Regions from separate parts of the Homo sapiens genome. Here region 2 is linked to region 1. The links are contacts of gene promoters, found by promoter capture Hi-C in blood cells and fetal thymus (Javierre and others, 2016). All regions are on one chromosome and are shown on one strand. Each heading gives the region's core, a stretch centred on a gene start or on the middle of the fragment in contact. The rest is flanking DNA. Distances are from core to core; before and after follow the strand shown.

Region 1 (7,061 bases), core at 3,309-5,808:
TCGAGCTATACAAATGGACTCCCTAGAAAAGTTTCCCTGGAATAAAAATGATGGAACAGGTGGCCTCCCACTAAAATTAGAACAACATCATCATAAACAGGGAAATAAATAGGCCAAATTTATAATATGATTGATGGTTATTTTTGAAATAATTTGCCCTACCTTTGAGGATCACATATGTGAGTACTCCACAGTTCAGAATCAAATTTGGTGCATGTATAAATTAATAACTTTTTAAAAACTGCCAAGAGATACTGTGAAGCTTACTCTAGACCCATGCAAACATTCTGATGCTATTTACTACTGGCAATCACCCGGAAACTCAAGCAAGGCACACCAATCCAAATAAGGAGGAACATTCATTTGCCTAAACCTGCAGATATCTTAAGTCACAGAAACACATATAATGACAAATTTAACTGCATGTTGGACTTGCTTCTGCCAATCTGATTCTAGCATTATGGATAGACAGGAACATGTAGCAAAGGGGTTATAATGTCACTCTACTGACTGAACAATTGAACAAATTAAAATCTGCTCCTTTTTCTAATCGATTCCCCTGGCTTTCCTCCATTACGTGGGCAGATTGGCTATGAAAGGGTTTTGAAATCCTTGTTTGTACCCTTATAGGATTCTGTCTCCTTTATTTCTGGCAAGAAACTTAGGCACTGCAAAATAACATACAATTTTAATTATAAGACAACATTGGGCCAGGGGATGGACTGTTATATGCATGAGCCAAAGATAGTCTCTATATATTGATTCTGCCAGTACCAAACTCAATTTTTTACACATCAATTGTTTTAAATATAGACCAATAAGTAGATTGTTAGCCATTTAGAGGCTGCCTTCTTTGCATGTCCCTGTGAAACTACAATCATCTGTTAGCTATAGATAGGATAAACTCCAGGAGATAAAAACCCTAACCTACTGCTGCCCTTCAGAGATCTCTGACCCAGCAACTCCCTGTCTTGCTGCTGAGAGACATCGCTACATGTATAAGCCATCTCTTTGATTCCCCTCCCTCTCTCCAGTTAGCTTGTCCTCTCATTTTCTAGGTTGTGACCTCCCACCAGCCTCTGGAAGATCTCAGACTTTGATTAACCCCATGCCCTTGCAAACCTGTCAAAGGGTTGACCAAATGAAACTCGTATGCTTATACACTGTTGGTGGGAATGTAAATTAGTAATAATAAACACTATATATAGTTCAACCACTATAGAAAGCAGTTTGGAGATTTCTCAAAGAACATAAAACACAACTACCATTCAATTCAGTAATCACATTATCGGGCATATATCCAGAAGAAAAGAAATCATTCAACCAAAAAGACACATACACTCATAGTTGTTTGCAGCCTTATTAACAAGAGCAATGACATGGAGTCAACTTAGGTGTCTATCACTGATATTTGCTAAAGAAAATGTGGTACATATATACCATGGAATACAACACAGCCATAAAAACTAATGAAATAATGTCCTTTGCAGCAACATGGATGCAGCTGAAGGCCATTATCCTAAGCGAATTTACACAGAAACAGAAAACCAAATACCATATGTTCTCATTTATAAGTTGGAGCTAAAGATTGGGTACTCATCAACATAAAGGTGGCAAAAACAGACACTGGAGGACTATTAGAAGGGGGAAGAAGAAAGGGGGTCATGGGTTGAAAAACTGTTGAGTATTATGCTCACTACCTGGGTGATGAGATCATCTGTTTTCCAAACCTCAGCATCATGCAATATACCCATATAACAAACCTGTGTATGTATCCCCAGAATCTAAAATAAAAGTTGAAATTCTAAAACAGACAAACAACAAAAACTCATTGTGTGTTACTGAAAACGTGTGGTAGTATATATTTTTCTTGATCAGTCCCCAAATCTCTTGCACTCACTTGTTTCCTATATTTTAATTCTACATATAAATTACACAAAACATATTATTATTATTGTTTTACATTGTCAATATGTCTGTTTACCCACATATTTATCCTTTCTATTACTGTTCGCTTCTTGCATCTCTTCAGTTTCAGAGGAGAACCTTTCAGTATTTCCTCAGTGTGGGTGTACTGGTGATCAATTTACTCAGCACTGATTTCTGAACATGTATTTATTTTGCCTTCATTTTTGATGTACTATTTCAGTAAGTTCAGAATTCCAAATTATCAGCTTACAAATCATTAAATTCCTTAAGTGACAAACTTGTATACAATGTAAGACTCACCTCTTTGCACTTCCCTTTTTTCTGAGATCATTACTCTTGAAGTCCTCATTGCCTTTATAGGTTTCTGATGCTATATTGGTAGCCTTTGTTGCCATAAAAGGGTTTCTTTACCTAAATTTCTGGGGTTTTTTTTCCGCAGGGCTGCTGCAATCAACTATACATTATTAGAAATGGAATTCTTTGATATCATTATAATGACTTACTGGTATTCCATTTTTAGTACCATAATTTCTTCAAATACTCTTTAGTTATTTAACATTCATTTAGTTTTCAGCTCTGTTATACTAGAACAAATTATATAATAAAAGTTATTTTAGCTAAATATTTGCACATATATCTTATTATTTCTTTAGAATATATTTCTAGAGGTAAAAATTTTTAGTTTATAGGTTTGAACAACTTCAGGGTCTTTAAAAATCACTGTACCCTAGGTTAGGAATATCTGTTGCTAAAGCTTAGAAATATCTTAGGTTTTTTTGTGCCTCCCATTCTGAATAGGCCCCAGGCATAAAAACTGCATTGGACTTCACAGAACCGAAACTGGTTATTCATATAAGGGATTGCTTCTCCAATTGGAGACAGAGATGGTGACACATTGTGACTGTAGCCAGTTATTTTCCCTTTCCTAAAGACGTATTAAAAAAAAGTATTGGAACCAACCCAAATGCCCATCAATGACAGACTGGATAAAGAAAACATGGCACATATACACCATGGAATACTATGCAATAAAAAAGGATGAGTTCATGTCCTTTGCAGGGGCATGGATGAAGCTGGAAACCATCATTCTCAGAAAATTAACACAAGAACAGGAAACCAAACACCACACGTTCTCACTCATAAGTGGGAATTGAACAATTACAACACATGGACACAGGGAGGGGAACATCACACACCAGGGCCTGTCAAGAGGTGGGGAGATAGGGGAGGGATAGCATTAGGAGAAATACCTAATGTAGATGATGGGTTGATGGGTGCAGCAAACCACCATGGCACGTGTATACCTAGGTAACAAATCTGCACATTCTGCACATGTACCCCAAAACTTAAAGTATAAAAAAAAAGAAAAAAAGACAAAAGTATACTCCCAGATTTTTGAGAAGATATAAAGAAAGACAACATATAATAAATGTTTGCAGCAAGATATAAACATATCAATAAAGGGTCAATAGTGGTAAGCTGAATTGTAGTGGTTGTGTGAGTGTCAGAAAGTTAGTGTTTTCCCTCTATCTCTCTTCCTCTCTCTCTCTCCCCTACTTCTAAAAACAGCCTGCCCGTCCTCTTCAGTGTTTTCTTTCTTACTCACTGCTGCCGTGCTACTCTCAGTTGGAATGATTTTCTCATCCTTGTCCTTTTGGTAAATATCTACCCACTCATCTTTTTAAACATCTCCTCTTTTATGAAGCCTTTTCTGCATCTACAGGTAGAACTGACCCTGCCATCCCCTGCATTCTTTACAAACTTCTAGAAAATTTAGCTTTACTTTTTCTCTGACTCCCATTTTTACATCGGGTGCTCCTTGATGACAAAGAGATTAACTGTAACTTCGGGATAGATGACCAGTGTTTGTTGAGTGAATGAATAAAGGGATCAGGGTTGGATCTGCTCAAAAGTGCTAGAGTAATAGAGCAAAACAGAGCAGGTAACACATCCCTTAACACTCGGTATCTCAACTGACTTTCACAAAAGCTCTATTAAATGAGCAGGTGATTGTGGAGTGAAAGAATTAAACAAATTTTCAAGAGTTTTAGTGGCTTTCCCACTAAAGCCTGGGTGACTGGGAAAGTTTGGGCTGGGAATGTTGGGCTTTTCAAGCGTGTTCGAAGCTCCCTAATTGGTACTAAATTTCAGGCATTCAGACCCTCTAGGAAAGAGTTCTTTCTAGCTCACAACATTAGGGGAGGAGTTAGACACATAAATGGAGAAAGTGATAGAAGAGACATGGTCAGGGATGGGGGTTCTACCCTTCCAGAGACAATGCACATTTTCTTTGAAACAGCTTCGGGAAAACTGCAAATCTCAATGATATTTACCAATTTTGAGAATCTATTAAGTGCCTGGCACTCTGTGTAGAAGCCCTCCAATCGTACCCTAAATCTGAGAAGTATTTATTATTATTTCCATTTTTACTCCCTAATGCATCTACTCTAAGCTCCTTGCTTCACCCTACCAAAGTTTCCCTTCTGCTAGTGCTCTCCTTTGGTGCAGAACCACCGCATCCACTTTCTCAGGCCCAGGGGAGGGGCGGGGCGGGGCGATTTCGCCTTGCCGCAGAGCCAGTCTGCGCCTGCGCGGACTGCGGCAGAGGGCGGGGTGTGAGAAGCAGAGTACAGTGAGACTAGCATTCACTGCTGGCCAGTGCCTGCCTTTTTCACCACCTCTAATTTCAGCTTCAGCAGTTGCTTGGAACTTTGGTTCTGGCAGCAGCAGCAACATCATTACCGCTAGCGGCAGTTTTGTGCCGAGGCACCTACACACCTCCCGTCCTCTCTGCCAGATCGCGGGCCTGTCGGTGTCTGCTCCTACACGCCAACGCCGGTGGGCAGGACCATGTCTCTGGTAAGCCAGAATTCGCGCCGCCGCCGCCGCCGCGTTGCAAAGGCTACTGCGCACAACAGCAGCTGGGGCGAAATGCAGGCCCCTAATGCCCCCGGTCTCCCCGCTGATGTGCCAGGCTCAGACGTCCCCCAGGGTCCCAGCGATTCCCAGATCCTCCAGGGCCTCTGCGCCTCTGAGGGCCCAAGCACCTCCGTTCTGCCCACCTCCGCTGAGGGCCCAAGCACCTTTGTGCCGCCCACCATCTCTGAGGCCTCAAGCGCCTCCGGGCAGCCCACCATCTCTGAGGGACCTGGCACCTCCGTGCTGCCCACCCCCAGTGAGGGCCTAAGCACCTCCGGGCCTCCCACCATCTCTAAGGGGCTGTGCACCTCTGTGACGCTTGCCGCCTCTGAGGGCCGGAACACCTCCAGGCCGCCCACTTCCTCTGAGGAACCTAGCACCTCCGTGCCGCCCACCGCCTCTGAGGTACCGAGCACCTCCCTGCCGCCCACCCCTGGTGAGGGAACGAGCACCTCCGTGCCGCCCACAGCCTATGAGGGACCAAGCACCTCCGTGGTGCCCACCCCTGATGAGGGACCAAGCACCTCCGTGCTGCCTACACCTGGTGAGGGACCAGGCACCTCCGTGCCGCTCGCCGCCACTGAGGGCCTGAGCACCTCCGTGCAGGCCACTCCTGATGAGGGACCGAGCACCTCCGTGCCGCCCACCGCCACTGAGGGCCTAAGCACCCCCGTGCCACCCACCCGTGATGAGGGACCGAGCACCTCCGTGCCGGCCACTCCTGGTGAGGGACCGAGCACCTCCGTGCTGCCCGCCGCCTCTGACGGACAAAGCATCTCCTTGGTGCCCACCCGCGGTAAGGGATCAAGCACCTCCGTGCCCCCCACCGCCACCGAGGGCCTGAGCACCTCCGTGCAGCCCACTGCTGGTGAGGGATCGAGCACCTCCGTGCCGCCCACCCCTGGTGGGGGACTGAGCACCTCCGTGCCGCCCACCGCCACTGAGGAGTTGAGCACCTCCGTGCCGCCCACTCCCGGTGAGGGACCAAGCACTTCCGTACTGCCAATCCCCGGTGAGGGACTGAGCACCTCTGTGCCGCCCACCGCCTCTGATGGATCGGACACCTCCGTGCCGCCCACTCCTGGTGAGGGCGCAAGCACCTTAGTGCAGCCCACCGCCCCTGACGGACCGGGAAGCTCCGTGCTGCCTAACCCTGGTGAGGGCCCGAGCACATTGTTTAGCTCTAGTGCTTCTGTGGACCGGAACCCCTCCAAGTGTTCCCTTGTTTTGCCAAGCCCTAGGGTAACCAAGGCCTCCGTGGACTCAGATTCTGAGGGTCCTAAGGGTGCAGAAGGCCCTATAGAATTCGAGGTCCTGAGAGACTGTGAGAGCCCCAACTCCATTAGTATTATGGGCCTCAATACTTCCCGGGTTGCAATTACCCTGAAGCCCCAAGACCCTATGGAACAGAACGTAGCTGAGCTGTTGCAGTTCCTGCTGGTGAAGGATCAGAGCAAGTACCCTATCCGGGAGTCTGAAATGCGGGAATATATTGTTAAAGAATATCGCAACCAGTTTCCTGAGATACTCAGGCGAGCAGCAGCCCACCTGGAGTGCATTTTTAGGTTTGAATTGAGAGAACTTGACCCTGAGGCACACACCTACATTCTGTTAAACAAACTGGGACCTGTGCCCTTTGAAGGGTTAGAAGAGAGCCCAAATGGGCCAAAGATGGGCCTCCTGATGATGATTCTAGGCCAAATATTCCTGAATGGCAACCAAGCCAAGGAGGCTGAGATTTGGGAAATGCTCTGGAGGATGGGGGTGCAGCGGGAAAGGAGGCTTTCCATTTTTGGGAACCCAAAGAGACTTCTGTCTGTGGAGTTTGTATGGCAGCGTTACTTAGACTACAGGCCAGTAACTGACTGTAAACCAGTGGAGTATGAGTTTTTCTGGGGCCCAAGATCCCACCTAGAAACCACCAAGATGAAAATTCTGAAGTTCATGGCGAAAATATATAACAAAGATCCTATGGATTGGCCAGAGAAATACAACGAAGCTCTGGAAGAAGATGCTGCCAGAGCCTTTGCTGAGGGTTGGCAGGCTCTCCCTCACTTTAGGAGGCCCTTTTTTGAGGAAGCTGCTGCAGAGGTACCATCCCCTGATTCAGAGGTTTCCAGCTATTCCTCAAAATATGCCCCACATTCATGGCCTGAGTCAAGATTGGAGAGCAAGGCAAGGAAGCTGGTGCAGTTATTTCTGCTTATGGATTC
Region 2 (7,061 bases), core at 1,732-4,231, 1.5 Mb after region 1:
ATTTTGTTTGGGGGATGGGTACAAAAGTAAGGTTGTAAAGAAGGAAAACACCAACAAGATAAAATCAATCTGCCTACAATTTGGATTTATTTTGATGGTGTGGAAAATATTATATGACTATTATTTTAGGCGCTACTGGATAAAAAAACCAGGAAATTAATTTCAGTATGTTGGAGAGACAAGGAGATGGGATGGAAAGAAAAATAGCTGGTTCCGAAGTGAAGAGATGTGAAATACAGATGTGAAAAAAAGTTAAATCATTTATGGAAACTTATATTAAGAAAATGCAGGCCGGGTGCGATGGCTCATGCCTGTAATCTCAGCACTTTGGGAAGTCGAAGTGGGTGGATCACCTGAGGTCAGGAGTTCAAGACCAGCCTGACCAACATGGCAAAACCCCCGTCTCTACTAAAAATTTAAAAATTAGCCCGGTGTGGTGGCGCAGGCCTGTAATCCCAGCTACATGGGAGTCTGAGGCAGAAGAATCGCTTCAACCCTGGAGGCGGAGTTTGCAGTGAGCTGAAATCGTGTTATCACACTCCAGCCTGGGCAACAAGAGCGAAACTCAATCTCAAAAAAAAAAAAAAAGGAAAGAAAAAAGAAAAAATGCAAAATAAAAGTACACTGAGACATACTGTATGATTCAATCTATATATGACATTCTGGAAAAGGCAAACTCATTGGTACAGAGAACAGATTAGTGGCTGCCAGGGGCTAGGGGTAGGGAAAAGGGTTGATCACAAAGAGGTCAAACAAGGGTGTTTTTATGATGCTAGAGCTATTCTGTCCTTAATTGTGGTGGTGGTGACACAATTGTATGCATTTGTCAAAACGCATAGAACTGTACACCAAAAAGTGAATTTTACTATGTGTATGTTTTAAAAATAAAAATTTTAAAGTTTAAAAGGGATATCTTACCTATCATATTGGCAAAAATCCAAAAGCTTGACACTACATGCTATTAGCAAGGCTGTGGGGAGTCAGGCACCCTTTATATTAATACGTTGCTGGTGGGAAGGCAAAACGTTACAACATCTATAATTTGGCAATATCTAAAAAAACTACACATATATTTATCCTTTAATCCAGCAATCCCACTTCTAGTAACCTACCTTGGAGAGAGACATCCAGCAATATGAAAATATGTGTGCACAAAGTTATTCATTTCAGCATTATTGAAATTGAAATATTCTTGAAACTACCTAAATATTCCAACATAGGAGATTGACTGAATATACTATAGCACATATACACCACAGATTTTGCAGCTGTAAAAAAGGAATGAGGAAGACTTATGTAAAATGATAATGGATTTTTATGCTACATTTGTATAAAATAGAGAAATAAGAAAACATACAGGTATTTGCCTATTTTTGCAAAAGGAAACACACAAGATAAACCAGAAAGTAATGAAATCGGTTACCTATAGGAATTGGTGGAAATGGAATGCAACAGTTAGGGGAGGGAATGACACTTCTCTAAGTACACTAGTCTGTTTAGTTTTGACTTTTGGAATAATGTTAATATTTTCAATAGTCAAAATGTATAATCAAAGCATTTAGTTTTACACGATGAAAAAGTCTTAGAGATGAATAATGGTGATAGTTGCACAACAATGTGAATGCCATTAATGCCACTGAACTGTATGTATTTTATTTTTTTTGTTTTGGGACAGGTCTCAGGCTAGAGTGCAGTGGTGCGATCTTGGCTCACTGTAACCTCCGCCTCCCCGGTTCAAGCAAGTCTCATGCCTCAGCCTCCCGAGTAGCTGGGATTAGAAGCATGTGCCACCATGCCCAGCTAATTTTTTGTATATTAGTAGAGACGGGGTTTTGCCGTGTTGCCATTTCTTTTCTTTCTTTTTTTTCTTTTCTTTTCTTTTCTTTTTTTTTTTTGAGACGGAGTCTTGCTCTGTCACCAGGCTGGAGTGCAGTGGTGGTATCTTGGCTCACTGCAACCTCCGACTCCCTGGTTCAAGCGATTCTGCCGCCTCAGTCTACAGAGTAGCTGGGATTACAGGCACATGCCACCACGCCCAGCTAATTGTTGGTATTTTTAGTAGAGATGGGGTTTCACCATGTTGGCCAGGATGGTCTCGATCTCCTGACCTCGTGATCCGCCCACCTCGGCCTCCCAAAGTGCTGGGATTACAGGCGTGAGCCACCGCGCCAGGCCTAACAGCTTTCTTTTCTTTCTTTCTTTTTGAGACGTAGTCTCGCTCTGTCGCCCAGGCTGGAGTCCAGTGGCACGTTCTCGGCTCACTGCAACCTCCGCCTCCCGGGTTCAAGTGATTATTCTGCCTCAGCCTCCTGAGTAGCTGGGATGACAGGCGCGCGCCACCACGCCGGCTAATTTTTGTATTTTTAGTAGAGACGGGGTTTCACCATCTTGGCCAGGCTGGTCTCGAACTCCGACCTCGTGATCCGCCCACCTTGGCCTCTCAAAGTGCTGGGATTACAGGCGTGAGCCACCGCGCCCGGCCAATAGCTTTCCAAAGTTATTTTATCACGTATTTATCTACATATTACAGAAGTTTTTACTGTTCTTGCAACTTTTCTCTAAACTTGACGTTATTTGAAAACTAAAAGCTAAGCCAATTAGTATAGTAGTAATAGCAGACAAAAAAAATGAGAGAAGTAAAGGAAGTTTTGGGGGAACAGAAAGAAGAAAGAGCTAGTGTGGAGATACTAAACCGAAGCTTGTGGAACTTGAACGCCATTTTGAAGCTAGTTCCTTAGACGATTCGGTCGAAGATCTGTCTCTCGGCTGCCCTCTATAGAGCTCTAAACCTGGCTTCAAGGAGTTCTTTCATTCTTCATTAGATACCACCCACCATACGTCATTTTATAAAGCCGGAAACTACATTTCCCAAAAGGCCTTTATTTTTCCTCGCGGGAAAAGGGATTGCAATTACTATAGGTTTTACAGGTATCGCGAGATTTCGTCAAATCTCATTACGGATCCCGGCTGAAAGCCATTTTGTTTTTCAGCTCACTTCAAGGGTACCTGAAGCGAATTGGCACCAAAGCAGCAGCTGTATTGCCGCAGTTCTAGCTTCACCTTCACGATGTTTCCCTTGGTCAAAAGCGCACTAAATCGTCTCCAAGGTGAGCAAAAATTATGACAAATCATTTACAACAACCTTATATCAATGTGTCCTCGCGGCCTCTCGTGTGCTTTCCTTTTACGAACATCTCGGCCTTCTAATCTTGAATGCTGTCTGTCTCCCATCTCGTCCCAAGTCATTGGGATGATGTCCTTAGCATTGGCTTTATCACCCAGTATTTCTGTTTCGGTTTCCAGCTCTCTTTCTGTTATCGGAGTGATAGTCTAGCCCTGCTTTTTAATTCTTCAGTAACCTTTGATTTCAGGGAAGGACATTCTTGGTAGACACCTCGTTCCTTAAGTGATGTCCTACATTTTAGCTTTGGGGATATGTTTACTCCTAACCCTGTATAGAAAAATATCTTCTCCAATTCCTATTACTGTAATAGACGGAAACTGTAAATCTAGCTCTTCACCTGGTTTAATTGCAGGGAAACAACCCAAATGGTATCGATGCAGCTTTGAAGTTATTTGTGGATTAACAATGTTAGCTGGCCAGGCGCGGTGGCTCACACTTGTAATCCCAGCACTTTGGGAGGCCAAGGCGGGCGGATCCCCTGAGGTCAGGAGTTCGAGACCAGCCTGGCCAACATAGTGAAACGCCGTCCCTACTAAAAATACAAAAATTAGCCGGGCGTGGTGGTGGGCGCCTGTAATCCCAGCTACTTGGGAGGCTGAGGCAAGAGAATCGCTTGTACCCGGGAGGCGGAGGTTGCAGTGAGCCAAGACTGCTACTGCACTCCAGCCTGGGCAACAAGAGCGGGACTCCGTCTCGAAAACAAAAACAAAACAATGTTAGCTGTCCTGAAGGCAATCGTGGTCATTTTTTTCTTATCCAAAGGTTGGGCAGGTACAGGGAGTTTTGAGACCAGCATTATGTAGAGAAAATGCAATAGATTGAGGAGAACAAATTAATTTTCATACTTGATTTGCACCGAAGGTGACCTTGAGTAACGTGGGCAGTTGTTACACAATGAAGGTGACCCGTAATTACTATTTAGTTTGTTTAGCCATCTTTTGATTTTCACTTAATAGAATCATTGGAGGATATTATTAGATTGTGTCCTAAACTCTTAAGCAACTTTGAAAATAACCACAAAATATTAGCTGGACTATTTTCATATTCCCAAAGTAGCATTTATTATCTCTTTTACTTTGGGCATATGATTTAGCCTCTCTCAACCTCAGTTTCCTTCTTTGTAAAATAAGTAATTTGTAAATAATGCCTACTTCATGGGGTTGTTGAGGATTATATGAGATCACCAATGTGTGGTAATTAAACAGTTGTCACAGAGGAGAGGTCTGATGAAATCCACCAGAGTTACATGAGTGTGTTGAAGTTATGAGATGTTGCAGAATTTTTTGGTAGTCTTAATTTCTTTGCTCTTTGAGCAAATAGGGCCACCTTGTACCTCAGGAAAGGTTTTTTGTTTTTTTTTCAGCGTGGAATTCACATGCCCACTTTTTATCTTTTCTGGAGCAGAATATATTATGAAATATTTGTAAATTTGCCTATCCCGGTGTGACTAAAAGATGAAAAGGGAAAGCTATGTAAGACAGTTAGAAGATCTGATAATGGTCTAATAACTATCATGAAGTAACCCATTGTACCATGTAGAAATATTCATTGCTAGTGAATGGGCAACATTGCAGTTTCTTTTTTTTTTTTTTGAGACAAAGTTTCGCTCTTGTTGCCCAGGCTGGAGTGCAGTGGCTCAATCTTGGTTCACTGCAATCTCCGTCTCCTAGGTTCAAGTGATTCTCCTGCCTCAGGCTCCCTAGCTTTTCATTATATATGTAAGTACCTTTGGAGGCTCTTTAAAACGATAAGAACCTGCCCCTTAAATTGGACAGGAAGAAAAAAAAAAACAGCTAGAAACAAGCTTTTTCCAGTCTCGGCTGTTTCCCAAGCCCTCCTTTTTAGTTCTTCCAGGGGCCGTTTGAAAACTTTTGTTCTTCTCTTTCTACTGGTATAATACTAACAGCAAACTTTATCATTCTGCTCAAAAACTAAGTCCTTAGCTAATTCTGCTTCCTTGTACGATACTGATTTTTATCTACATGTGTAATCCTCTAGACTGGAAGTTACTTGAGGACAGGATCTCTGTCTTATACTTTTTTATATACCCCATTTCTCATTTTTTATTTTTAGGGACAGAGAATTGCTCTGTTACCCAGGCTGGAGTGTAGTGGTGTGATCATAGCTCACTGCATCCTCTAACTCCTGGACTCAAGTGATCGTCCGGCCACAGCCTCCTGAGTAGCTGGGACTACAGGTGTGCATGCACCACCATGCCCGGCTAATTTTTAATTTTCAATTTTTTTGTAGAGACAGGGTCTCACTATGTTTCACAGACTGGTCTGAAACTCCTGGCCTCAAGCGATCCTCCTACCTTGGCCTCCGAAAGTATTGGGATTACAGATGTGAGCCACTGTGCCTGGCCCATTAATTTTTTAAAAATCAAGATTACTCTAGTTGTGGCGAGTTTTTTTGTTACTGTAGTAATTTTACAGTCATAAGCATTTAGTGTGCTTTAATTTGAAGTTCATTTGAGTTCATTTGCCCTTGTATGTTGTAAGTTGTTGGGCTCTATTGAGTAAACTTTAATGAAAATTTAAGTCATAAGTATTCAAATTAATCAATGGGAGCCAAAATTTCAGGGGTTATGCAAATACCACTTTGTAGAGAATGTTACTGACATCATTCATTCTTTGCTTTTTTCCCCCAACACTATTATGAAAACTCTCAGACATACTGAAGAGTTGGAAGAATCGTATGAACACCCATATACCCACCACAAAGATTCTACAGTTAACATTTTGCTATTTGTTTTATCATGTATTTGTCCATCTGTCAATTCATCTTATTTTTGTTGCATTTCAAAGTACACTGCTTTAATAGCTACAATATGTTTTAACATTTTATTGAACTACATAATACTGTAAAATTAACTTCCTTGGCTTTCCTGATTGGCAGTATCAATCACATATGTTTTCTTTACCTGACAATTGATAATATGCTTCTGTATTCTTTTTTCGTTTTCCTGTAAGTTCGAAGCATTCAGCAAACAATGGCAAGGCAGAGCCACCAGAAACGTACACCTGATTTTCATGACAAATACGGTAATGCTGTATTAGCTAGTGGAGCCACTTTCTGTATTGTTACATGGACATATGTAAGTACTATTGATTAATAATTTCTGTTTCAGATGTTTTTCATTCTCAGTCTATGCATTCAAAGTGTCTTAACATAGTAGTGTACATATCTAGTTAGGAGGGACTTGAGAGATTGTGTAATCTAATTACCCACACAGTGCAGGGGATTTTTTCCCCCCAGCATTCATCCATCTTCTGTTCTTAACATTCCCAGTAATAAATTGCTTACTGGATCACAAGGCAGCCCTTTCCATCTTGTGTAGCTGTTTTTTTTGTTTTTGTTTTTTTTTTTTTTTAAGAAGAAGTCTTGCTGTGTCCCCCAGGCTGGAGTGCAGTGGTGCGATCTTGGCTCACTGCAACCTCTGCCTCCTGGGTTCAAGCACTTCTTCTGCCTCAGGCTCCCAAGTAGCTGGGACCACAGGTGTGTGCCACCAGGCCTGGCTATTTTTTTTTTTTTTTTTTTTTGAGACGGAGTCTTGCTCTGTTGCCCAGGCTGGAGTGCAGTGGCGCGATCTCGGCTCACTGCAACCTCTGCCTCCTGGGTTCAAGTGATTCTCCTGTCTCAGCCTCCCAGGTAGCGGGATTACAGGCGCCCTCCAGTACGCCTGGCAGATTTTTGTATTTTTAGTAGAGACGGGGTTTCACCATGTTAGTTAGGCTGGTCTTGAACTCCTGACCTCAGGTGATCCGCCCGCCTTGGTTTCCCAAAGTGCTAGGATTACAGGTGTGAGCCACTGTGCCCAGCCTTGTGTAGCTGTTAAAAGGATCATATGGTGAGTTAAAATCTGCCTTTTTCCTAT

The links. The method cuts DNA at HindIII sites, captures the fragments that hold promoters and counts their contacts. A CHiCAGO score of 5 or more calls a contact.
Region 2: a contact is called between the fragment with the promoter of COX7B here and the fragment with the promoter of MAGEE1 in region 1, in 2 of 17 cell types (fetal thymus and non-activated CD4 T cells). The highest score is 7.2, in fetal thymus.

Annotation. Positions count from the first base shown.
Region 1 is chrX:76,423,152-76,430,212 of GRCh38, forward strand. MAGEE1 (MAGE family member E1) reads left to right here and starts at 4,559. Exons shown (of 1, transcript NM_020932.3): 1 at 4,559-7,061. The coding sequence starts at 4,780. RefSeq lists enhancers at 4,607-4,816, 5,287-5,416. The HindIII fragment of the contact is 4,624 bases long and covers 2,682-7,061 here.
Region 2 is chrX:77,896,487-77,903,547 of GRCh38, forward strand. It overlaps COX7B (cytochrome c oxidase subunit 7B), which reads left to right and starts at 2,982. Exons shown (of 3, transcript NM_001866.3): 1 at 2,982-3,107; 2 at 6,157-6,281. The coding sequence starts at 3,068. RefSeq lists an enhancer at 2,936-3,185. The HindIII fragment of the contact is 2,290 bases long and covers 2,697-4,986 here.